Regions from separate parts of the Homo sapiens genome. Here region 2 is linked to region 1. The links are contacts of gene promoters, found by promoter capture Hi-C in human tissues and cell types (Jung and others, 2019). All regions are on one chromosome and are shown on one strand. Each heading gives the region's core, a stretch centred on a gene start or on the middle of the fragment in contact. The rest is flanking DNA. Distances are from core to core; before and after follow the strand shown.

The links. The method cuts DNA at HindIII sites, captures the fragments that hold promoters and counts their contacts. A contact is called where the count stands out against the background at its distance.
Region 2: a fragment that was not itself captured here is called in contact with the fragment with the promoter of BDKRB1 in region 1 in 1 of the 25 tissues and cell types used here (IMR-90 fibroblasts).

The regions. Positions count from the first base shown.
Region 1 is chr14:96,254,017-96,258,672 of GRCh38, forward strand. BDKRB1 (bradykinin receptor B1) reads left to right here and starts at 2,194. Exons shown (of 3, transcript NM_000710.4): 1 at 2,194-2,284. The HindIII fragment of the contact is 16,224 bases long and covers 1-4,656 here.
Region 2 is chr14:96,062,318-96,066,973 of GRCh38, forward strand. All of the region lies in intron 1 of C14orf132 (chromosome 14 open reading frame 132), which reads left to right. Among named protein-coding and RNA genes, the nearest start is that of C14orf132, 25 kb to the left of the region's middle. RefSeq lists a silencer at 391-568. The HindIII fragment of the contact is 6,124 bases long and covers 1-4,656 here.

The DNA.
Region 1 (4,656 bases), core at 944-3,443:
GCCTGCCTGGAGTGCCCCCTCACTAGTATTTAGGACACCCCAGGGAAGGTTGGCCTGTCCTCTATTTCCAGAGGCAGGCCTTTATCCTCTGTGACCACCTCTTCACCCAAGTACCCAGGGGACTTCATCAAGCACAGCACACATCAGACTGTAAGGTTTAACCAAACCTTATAGAGGCTGTGGGAATTACAAACAACTAAATTCAGAAAAGGCAAGCATTGGCCGGGCACGGTGTCTCACGCCTGTAATCCCAGCACTTTGGGAGGCCAAGGTGGGTGGATCACCTGAGGTCGGGAGTTTGAGACCAGCCTAACCAACATGGAGAAACCCCGTCTCTACTAAAAATACAAAATTAGCTGGGTGTGGTGGTGTGTGCCTGTAATCCCAGCTACTCGGGAGGCTGAGGCAGGAGAATCGCTTGAACCCAGGAGGCGAAGGTTGCAGTGAGCCGAGATCGCTCCATTGCACTCCAGCCTGAGCAACAAGAGCGAAACTCAGTCTCAAAAAAAAAAGAAAAAAGGCAAGCGAAGCCTCAGAAGAGGGTCCTCAGTGCCTACCCACTTCTTAGTCCCCTGCTATCTTCTGCCACACTATAGGGACCTGCTTTTCTTTCACAGATTTGGGGTCCCCTCCCCCTGCCCTCAGCCCCACTCCCTTGGCCCCAGAGACAGTAGGAGACCCTCTGCTCCCCTGAGCCCGGGCCTGTCTCGCATTTCCCGTGGAGATGAGCAACAAGGGGAAACGTGGGTCTTCTTAAAGAACTTTCCTTTCCGCCCTCCACCACCTTGGCAAGGCAGCCAGATGCATCTCCGAAGTCCAGCTCACTCAGGCCAGCTCTCTTCACAGACTGTCTTCCAGCAAGAGGCAAAGCAGAGATGAGACCTGCACGTGCTCTTTGTGGCAGAGCTGGCCTTATACGCACTCCTGGGTGAATAAACAGGGAGACATCTCCTAAGAACAAACGCTTCTCAGAAACAGTATAGTCTAAACTCATACTGAAGGGAGAATAAGCCAGCCACGGGCTGGAGAGACCCCCGCCTACATTACTAAGTAACAGGAAAGGCTAAGATTTGGAGCCTTCCTCCGGTTCAGATCTATCCCGGGAGTAATGGAAGATGCTTGCCTGTTGACAATTTTTTTTTATTAAAAATCCCACCCAGGAGGTCTCTCCTGATAGGAGGGGACCATCCTATCCTCTAAGGCAAATTCCAGCTTCTTCCCTGAAATGTACATCCGCTACTGAGCCTCAGAATGCTATTTGTTCCACCTACTTCCACAGTTTTAAGGTCTTCAGCAACAGGAGAAGACAGCAGGAAAACTTGAAGTGCAGTTGGCTCCCGCTGAGATGTCACTAGCAGAAAAAGGGAACACAAGCAAAAGGCAAGATTCTAAAGACAGAGGTGACACCTTCTGCTCCAAACATTTGGAGGGTCACCTTTCCAGAAGTCAGACTCGAAGTCCTGAATTCTGGCATGAATGAGTTCTCCTACGTGTAGGGGGTGGCCTGGAAAGATCTTAATTTGTAAGTTGACAGGTAAGGGGCCTTCAGTTGGAGAATCTTGTCACCTGATTCTCAAAGCCAAAAATATCTTACTGTCTGAAACATGAGGTCTTGAGTAGTTCAACTTGACCCATGCAGACATAATTTGAGAGACGCCAAGGAGGATTAGGAAAAAATGTATCTGGTCTTACTCAACTCTGAACATTGCATGAGTCAAACGTTTTCCTAGCTCTCTGTTTGTGTGATGGGTCCACTCTGATGGATTCTTGGCGATGTATCTTTCATGACCAAAATTCAAAAGAGGCCATTCGAAGTGGCTCCCACAAAAGCTGCTGCAGAGCCCCAGACATTCAGAAGCCAATAGTGAAGGGGCCAAAAGCCATCCCTCAATGTTCACTGACACTTTGCGAGCCTTGGGGCAAGTTGGCGATGTCAAAACATGTTTTTAGGGCGTGTTTGCCAACATACAGGTCTTGGGCAGGATTGCAGACCTCTGCAGATGGTACCAAAGTAAAGGGGGAGATGGTAGCTGAATAATCTCTTATCATCCCTAAAGTGCAAAGTGAAATGAGAGTGGATTTTTCCTTCCAAATCCACTTGGAGTGAGTCCCGAAAGACTCACTTTTGCGGCAATCCCCACAATGACATCACTGGAGCGGAGGTTATATAATTTAAAGCAACCACATCTCCACAGCACTTCCCAGAAGAGAAAACTCCTCCAAAAGCAGCTCTCACTATCAGAAAACCCAACTACAGTTGTGAACGCCTTCATTTTCTGCCTGAGTAAGTAAATGACCACCTTTTTTTTTTCTTTTATGAGAGTACAATATGAGAGGAAATCTGTGTCTCTTAGAAAAACAAAAAACTTCCTTTTACACCTACCTATTGGCAAAATTTTCCACTTCTGTGAGGGTACTTTTTAAAAATAATTCTAAATCAATTTAAGAGACTTTTATTTCATGCCTAGTTTGGGTCTTAATTGCTTTTCCAGAACAGGAGGAGGAGGGAAAGGTTTTAGAACTCGTAGGAAGGTTCCAGTAGCTCCTTATATCAAAGTCAGGTGAAACATGTCAGGGCTGAATGCAGCCACCAGAGTTCGCATGGACTGACCAGTTACAGCCTGCAAATTCTGAATCATAAAAATTAAATTAGTCTCTCTGGGATGGCTTACAAGATTTCATAAGACCAATAACTGGTTGGGTTATTCGTGGCTTGAAAGTAGCATCTTACTATGTGACCGTGCTGATGGTCTTTAACATCTGTGGCTGAATTTCCAATGCCTTTAACATCACCATGCTGTTGAAATTGGAGTTAATTTGAAGAATTAACTAATTTGTTGAAGAAAGTCACACTGTCTCATAGCCTAGGTTAAAATGTGCAGAATTCAGAAAATACCACACAGGAATTACAGAATTGCCATCTCTTGTAGACTTGCCCAGTGCCCCTTCTGAGTTCTTCAAATAGGGTCACATATTACTAACAATATCCAGAGATATTGTTTATTGAGCACCTACTATGTTCCAGGCAAATATCAGAGCTAAAGCTGAAAACTGGCAAAGGAAGATTTCTCCTCTCTAGCCAACTTTATAAACACAGACAGCAGCAGGTGAGGACAATCCCTTTAAAAATAAGCCCCATGTGAGCAGACACATGCTGTGGCTGCAGTGGCCCCAGCCACCTCCCCGTCCTGGGGATGGGGGCGGTGTCCACTGACCTAATCAGGTTCGAGCTAAAGTCCCTGCGTAGCTGGTCGTCTCTGGCTTCCTGGGCAGGGTGCAGCCTCACCCCCGTGCTGGTTTCCTAAGGCTGCTATAATTAATTATCACAAAGTGAGTGGCTTAAAACGATGCAAGTTATTATCTTACAGTTCTGGAGATCAGGAGTTCAAACTCAGTCTCGCTGAGCTAAAGTCAAGATATTGGCTTGGCTTTGTTCTCCATCCCCATGATTCAATTATCTCCCACCAAGTCCCTCACACAACACGAGAGAATTATGGGAGCTACAACTCAAGATGAGATTTGGGTGGGGACACAGCCAAACCATATCAGTGCTCAACACCCTCCCATCTCTTCTCAAACTCTCAATGCCCCAGCCCCTCCACCACAGGTCAGGACCTCGCCTCCTTTCTCCCTGAGAAATCCCAACCAATCGCCGGGGAATTCTACAGATTCCCACCTGCCAGCCTCTGTCACCATAGACCTCAGCTTCCTGGCCATCATCAGAGATAGCTAGGAGAGGGATGGTCAGGCCATGTGTGTGCACACTGCCGGGGCACCCCAATAGTCAAAAATTATTTCCCCCAAAAATTAGTATTTACAGGTAGAAAGAGAGAGGAAAGAAGGAAGGAAGGAAAGAAGGAAGGGAAGGAAGGAAGGAAGGAAAGCAGGATGGGAGGGAGGGAAGAAGGGAGGGAGGAAGGGAGGGATGGAGGAAGGAAGGAAGGAAGGAGGGAAGGAGGGTAGGGAGGGAAGGAGAGAAGGAGGGAATGAAGGGAAGGAAGGAAGGAAGGGGAAAAAATCCAACAAAATGGTTATATTATATTGATGGTGTTATAAAGTAGTTCTAGATAAAAACTATTTTCAAAAAAGTCTTTAAATATATATGCATACACCTATGAATATTAAAGCAAAAGAAAACATGTTTATGTTAATCAACTGAACATTTAAAAATAAGATAAGCAAAATAATTGTTCTTGTTGTATATTCACATGCTACAGTTTCTTGTACCTGACTGATACCCTGTCACTGGCATTTTTCACAAGAATGTATTTTCTTCAGTGGGGTCTTGTTATTTTTAATTTTTCCATATAATTGCCTGAAATCTTTTTTCCACAAATTTTACAATTAACAAATTTAAATTAGTACCTTCAATTGACTCTTCTCTTGAACCATAATATATTGAGAAAATGTTCCCTGTGCAGGTTCTGAGTGATAAGCTCTCAGCAAATTCTGCCAGGCAGAGGCTGTTCTCAAGTCCAATTCTTTGCATATGGAATTGCATAAATATTTTAGCCCAGATATTTTCACAGGTGCTGTCTTTGTGCCTTAGTTTGGAATGTAGTGGTGCGATCTTGGCTCGCCACAACCTCCGCTTCCCAGGTTCAAGCAATTCTCCTGCCTCAGCCTCCTGTGTAGCTGGGATTACAGGCGCCTGCC
Region 2 (4,656 bases), core at 1,160-3,659, 190 kb before region 1:
GCCTGACTGCACCCTGGCCTGAACCCCTAGTCCTCTTTCACCCTCAACCATGAGATGAGCATCACCAGCTCCAAATGCTCCCCATTAATCAAGAAAGAAAACAAAAAGGACCAATGGATCTTCGTGTTTTCCTTTCGTCAATCTACTTTCTCTCTCCCCTGCCTTTTGCAAAAGCTGACATGGAGATTGCAGCCCTCCACATGTGTCTTTATGGTAATAATTTGAAACACCAGCACTGCCTGTTTCAATTGGAAAGGAGGCATTTCCTGCCTCTTAGGAAAAAGTCCTCCTGCCCAGCTCCCTGCTCACGGCTGCTAAGGTTCACATCCTCGCAATTCCACCACTCTGAGCTGCATCCGTGTCAGAACCGCTAGGGAGTGGTCCAGATCCCTTTGCCAAACATTTCAGCAACTGGAACCCAGGTTTCTCAACAGAGGATTAAAGCGCTGTCTTCACTCCTGGGCTGCCAGGTACATTCTTCCTTGGCCTTCGGAGTGCCCTTACATACTCTCAGGATGAATCCAGTCTTGTTTCTGAGATGATTTTCTTTCCAACAAACAGGTTACTTATGGAGCATAATATAGACTTGATTTTGCCCAAACAAGCCACTGAGCATTTATTGAGTGCCTGCTATGTGCAAAACACTGAGGATCAAAGACACACCACAGACCCTCTCTGCCCAGAGTCACAAAAAGAGTGGATGTCAGTACTTTTATCACAGAAAAAAATTTTTTCATCTGATGCTTTTAAAGAGTTTGGAAGGTGGATGAGGCAGGGATCGTCATATCTGTTTGATAGCTGGGTAAGCAGAGGCCAGGGAGCTGTGAAGCAGCCGTTGACTTGCAGCTGGGGCGGGTCTCAGGCCTCCTTGCTCTTGTCCAAGCTGCCATCCCCTCAGGAACAGAGGGTGAATAGGATGGAGGTTCCGTATAAGAACTGACCTCTTGAAAAGTACTGTCCACCCAAGGAACAGGACTGTGGTATCCTTTTGTTTGTTTGTTTGTTTTTTGAGACAGAGTCTCGCTCTGTCACCCAGGCTGGAGTGTAGTGGTACAATCTTGGCTCACTGTAACGTCTGTCTCCTGGTTTCAAGTGATTCTCCTGCCTCAGCCTCCCCAGTAGTTGAGACTACAGGCAAACGCCACCACGTCGGGCTAATTTTTGTATTTTTAGTAGAGACGGGGTTTCACCATGTTGGCCAGGCTGGTCTCAAACTCCTGACCTCAGGTGATCCACCTGCCTCAGCCTCCCAAAATGCTGGGATTGCAGGGGTGAGCCACCACACCCAGCCATGTGGCATCCTTTTGAGGAACAACAAAAGTTACGTCCCTACATTGGCTTAGGCAAGGATTTGGTGACCAAGAACCCAAAAGCAAATGCAATAAAAACAAAGATAAATAGCTGGGACCTAATTATTCTAAAGAGCTTTTGCACGGCAAAAGGAACAGTCAGCAGAGTAAACAGACAACCCACAGAGTGGGAGAAAATCTTCACTATCTATACATCTGACAAAGGACTAATATCCAGAATCTACAACAAAATCAAACAAATCAGTAATAAAAAAAATAAACAATCCCATCAAAAAGTGAGCTAAGGACATGAATAGACAATTTTCAAAAGAAGATATGCAAATGGCCAACAAACATATGAAAAAATGCTCAACATCACTAATCATCAGGGAAATGCAAATCGAAACCACAATGCGATACCACCTTATTCCTGCAAGAATGGCCATAATCAAAAAACAGTAGATGTTGGCAGGGATGTGGTGAGCAGGAAACACTTCTACACAGCTGGTGGGAATGTAAACTAGTACAGCCACTATGGAAAACAGTGTGGAGATTCCTTAAAGAAATAAAAGTAGAACTACCATTTGATCCAGCAATCCCAGTACTGTGTATCTACCCAGAGGAAAAGAAGTCATTATGTGAAAAAGATATTTGCACAGGCATGTTTATAGCAGCACAATCCACAACTGCAAAATCGTGGAACTGACCCAAATGCCCATCAATCATCGAGTGGATAAAGAAACTAGGGTGCATATATACACACACACACACACACACACACACACACATATACATATATGTATATATATACACATATATACACATATATATGTGTATATATATGTGTATATGTATGTATATATATATATGATGGACTACTAGGCAGCCATAAAAAGGAATGAATTAATAGCATTTGCAGTGACCTGGATGAGATTGGAGACTCTTATTCTAAGTGAAGTGACTCAGGAATGGAAACCCAAACATCATATGTTCTCACTGGTATGTGGGAGCTAAGCTGTGGGGATGCAAAGGCACAAGAATGATACAATGGACTTTGAGAACTTGGGGGAAGAGTGGAAGAGGGGGCATAAAAGACTACAAATACGGTGCAGTGTCTACTGCTCGGGTGATGAGTGCACCAAAATCTCACAAATCACCACTAAAGAACTTACTCATGCAACCACAAACCACCTGTACCCCAATAACTCATGGAAAAATAAAATTAAAAAAATTAAAAAATAAAAAAGTCACGTCCTCATCTTAATTTGCTCTCCTGGCATTTTGCATTTTCCATGCTGGGATTCCGCTCTGGCCAGCTCTGTTGAACAGGCTTTGCTGGTTGGCAGGGATTGTGCACACACATGGTGCCACCTCCCTTAGCTTCTCTGGCCCTGTTTTCTTCCTAACCCAGTGTGCTGTCTTCCTCCCATACATAGGTAGGGGGTTTTGACGTGACTTCCTGGACATCATGTGTAGCGGTCGGGGGAGTTTTCTCTGGCTTCTGACCCAGCTGGGTGTACTGAAATAACTGTGAGGCTGCAGGGTTCTGAGCCGGATTGTGTTGGCACAGGATGGCCACCTCTGTGCCTTCCTCTTCTGCTCATACAGGTGCCCCTGGGGAGGAGGGTGCAGTGTGTTCCCCTGAGAGCTACATTGGTTGGAGGAGACTATAGCATTTTAGAACGTCCTCCTGGAGATTCCGATGTGCATCTCCAGTGGAGAATCTGGCCTTTTGTTGCTGTTGTTTCATGCCATGATTACTACTGAAGACAATTTTGCCATATAGAGGAGAGGATGTTTAAAAATAAACCAAAAGGATCCACTTAGGGAGGTAAACATCCTGGGCTTGCCGTTGCCCCGGCCGCCGCTTCACTCCAGTATGCGTGTGCTCGCTGATGGAGAATGATGCTCAGTTTCACTTTTATTCCTTTTGTCCTCTCCTCTTAGCCTTCATCACCCCCCACCACTTTCCCCTTCTCTCTCTCTTCCTCCAAAATAGGGATTACATAGTTTTTTTCTTGGTACCTCTGGCTTCTAGCCTGACCCCCTCCACCCCCAGCATGTAGTAGGTGCTCAGTAAAAGGTCTGTTCAGCCAATGAACGAGATAACAATTGAACAAACACATTCCCCACCCATCCTCCTAAGGCCCTGAGACTTTATTCTGCTCAGTGGCAAGGAATTTAATCTGATTAGGAGGCTGCTGACCCACACAGGGGACGCCCATTTGGTTCCAATGACACTGCTGAATCACTTCAAAGATGCTATCGAGTTAATTGGGGTAGAATAAATACTAATTTATGGCAACCTTTGCCAGCTCTTCCCCAAGGGAAAATTTTTAAACTCCCCATCCTCTTGCTTTGCTTGACCGCTGAGATCCAGTGAAAGTGGCCTGAACTTCCCATAGCTGAGCCAACAGAGGCACAGCCTCCTCCCCCTTATCCCCACCTCAGGAAGCCACAGCCACGTGGAGGAGCTCCTCAGGTACAGCCAGGGAGGTGGGGCATCTCAAACAGGCCTTGGCTGTTTCTTCTTAAGGTTCTTAGCCAGCCTCCTCTGAATGCAAGCTGTGGCTCTGGGGCTTGTCCCAGTCCCCTGAATTCTCACCATGGACCATGGGATGCGCGTGGAGGACAAGGTCCCCAGGGCCCTGGACCACACCATCTGAGCCTTTCTGTCCCCGCAGGGCAAGTGCTTCTTCCATTATTGCTAATCTAAGATGCTGTGCTCTGATGAGACAGCGTTTTCTCCCCCTGCGTTGTGCTGAGTTACTATGGCAACACTTTCAGAAGCGGTGAATTTGCTTTTTCCTCTTAATTCTGAAATGCTCTCAGGCTTTCCAAAAATATCCTTATTTCCCTGGGTCCAACTGTGGGTTGAGGCATGTCGGACACACAGAAAATAGAGCCAGCTCCTCCACCATGTATATATTACATCAAGTAGCTCAGTGCACAGCAATTGTTTGGGTAAACTTTTTTTTTTAATAAAAAATATTTTTAGCATCTGCTCTATGTCAGTAGATGTGCTAGGCACCGGGATTCAAAGAGAAGTTAGACTCAACCCGTATCCTACAAGTGCTCACAGTCCCTAAGAAAAATAGACAAGTACACAGTTAACTATAATGTAATGTGAGTACACATCTAACTATAAGATAATGTAACATAACATAATATATTGTAATGTAATATAATAGAATGTACTATAATACATGTAATGTAGTAAATATAATGTAATGTAATAAATATTTTGTCAGTTCTAGGAATAAATTAGTGTAAGACCCCAATAGAGAAAGCTGTTAATTCAACCTGGAGTGAGGAGGGTTAGGAGTTGGTAGATCTAGAGTTTGATTTCTGATCAATTACGTATGGG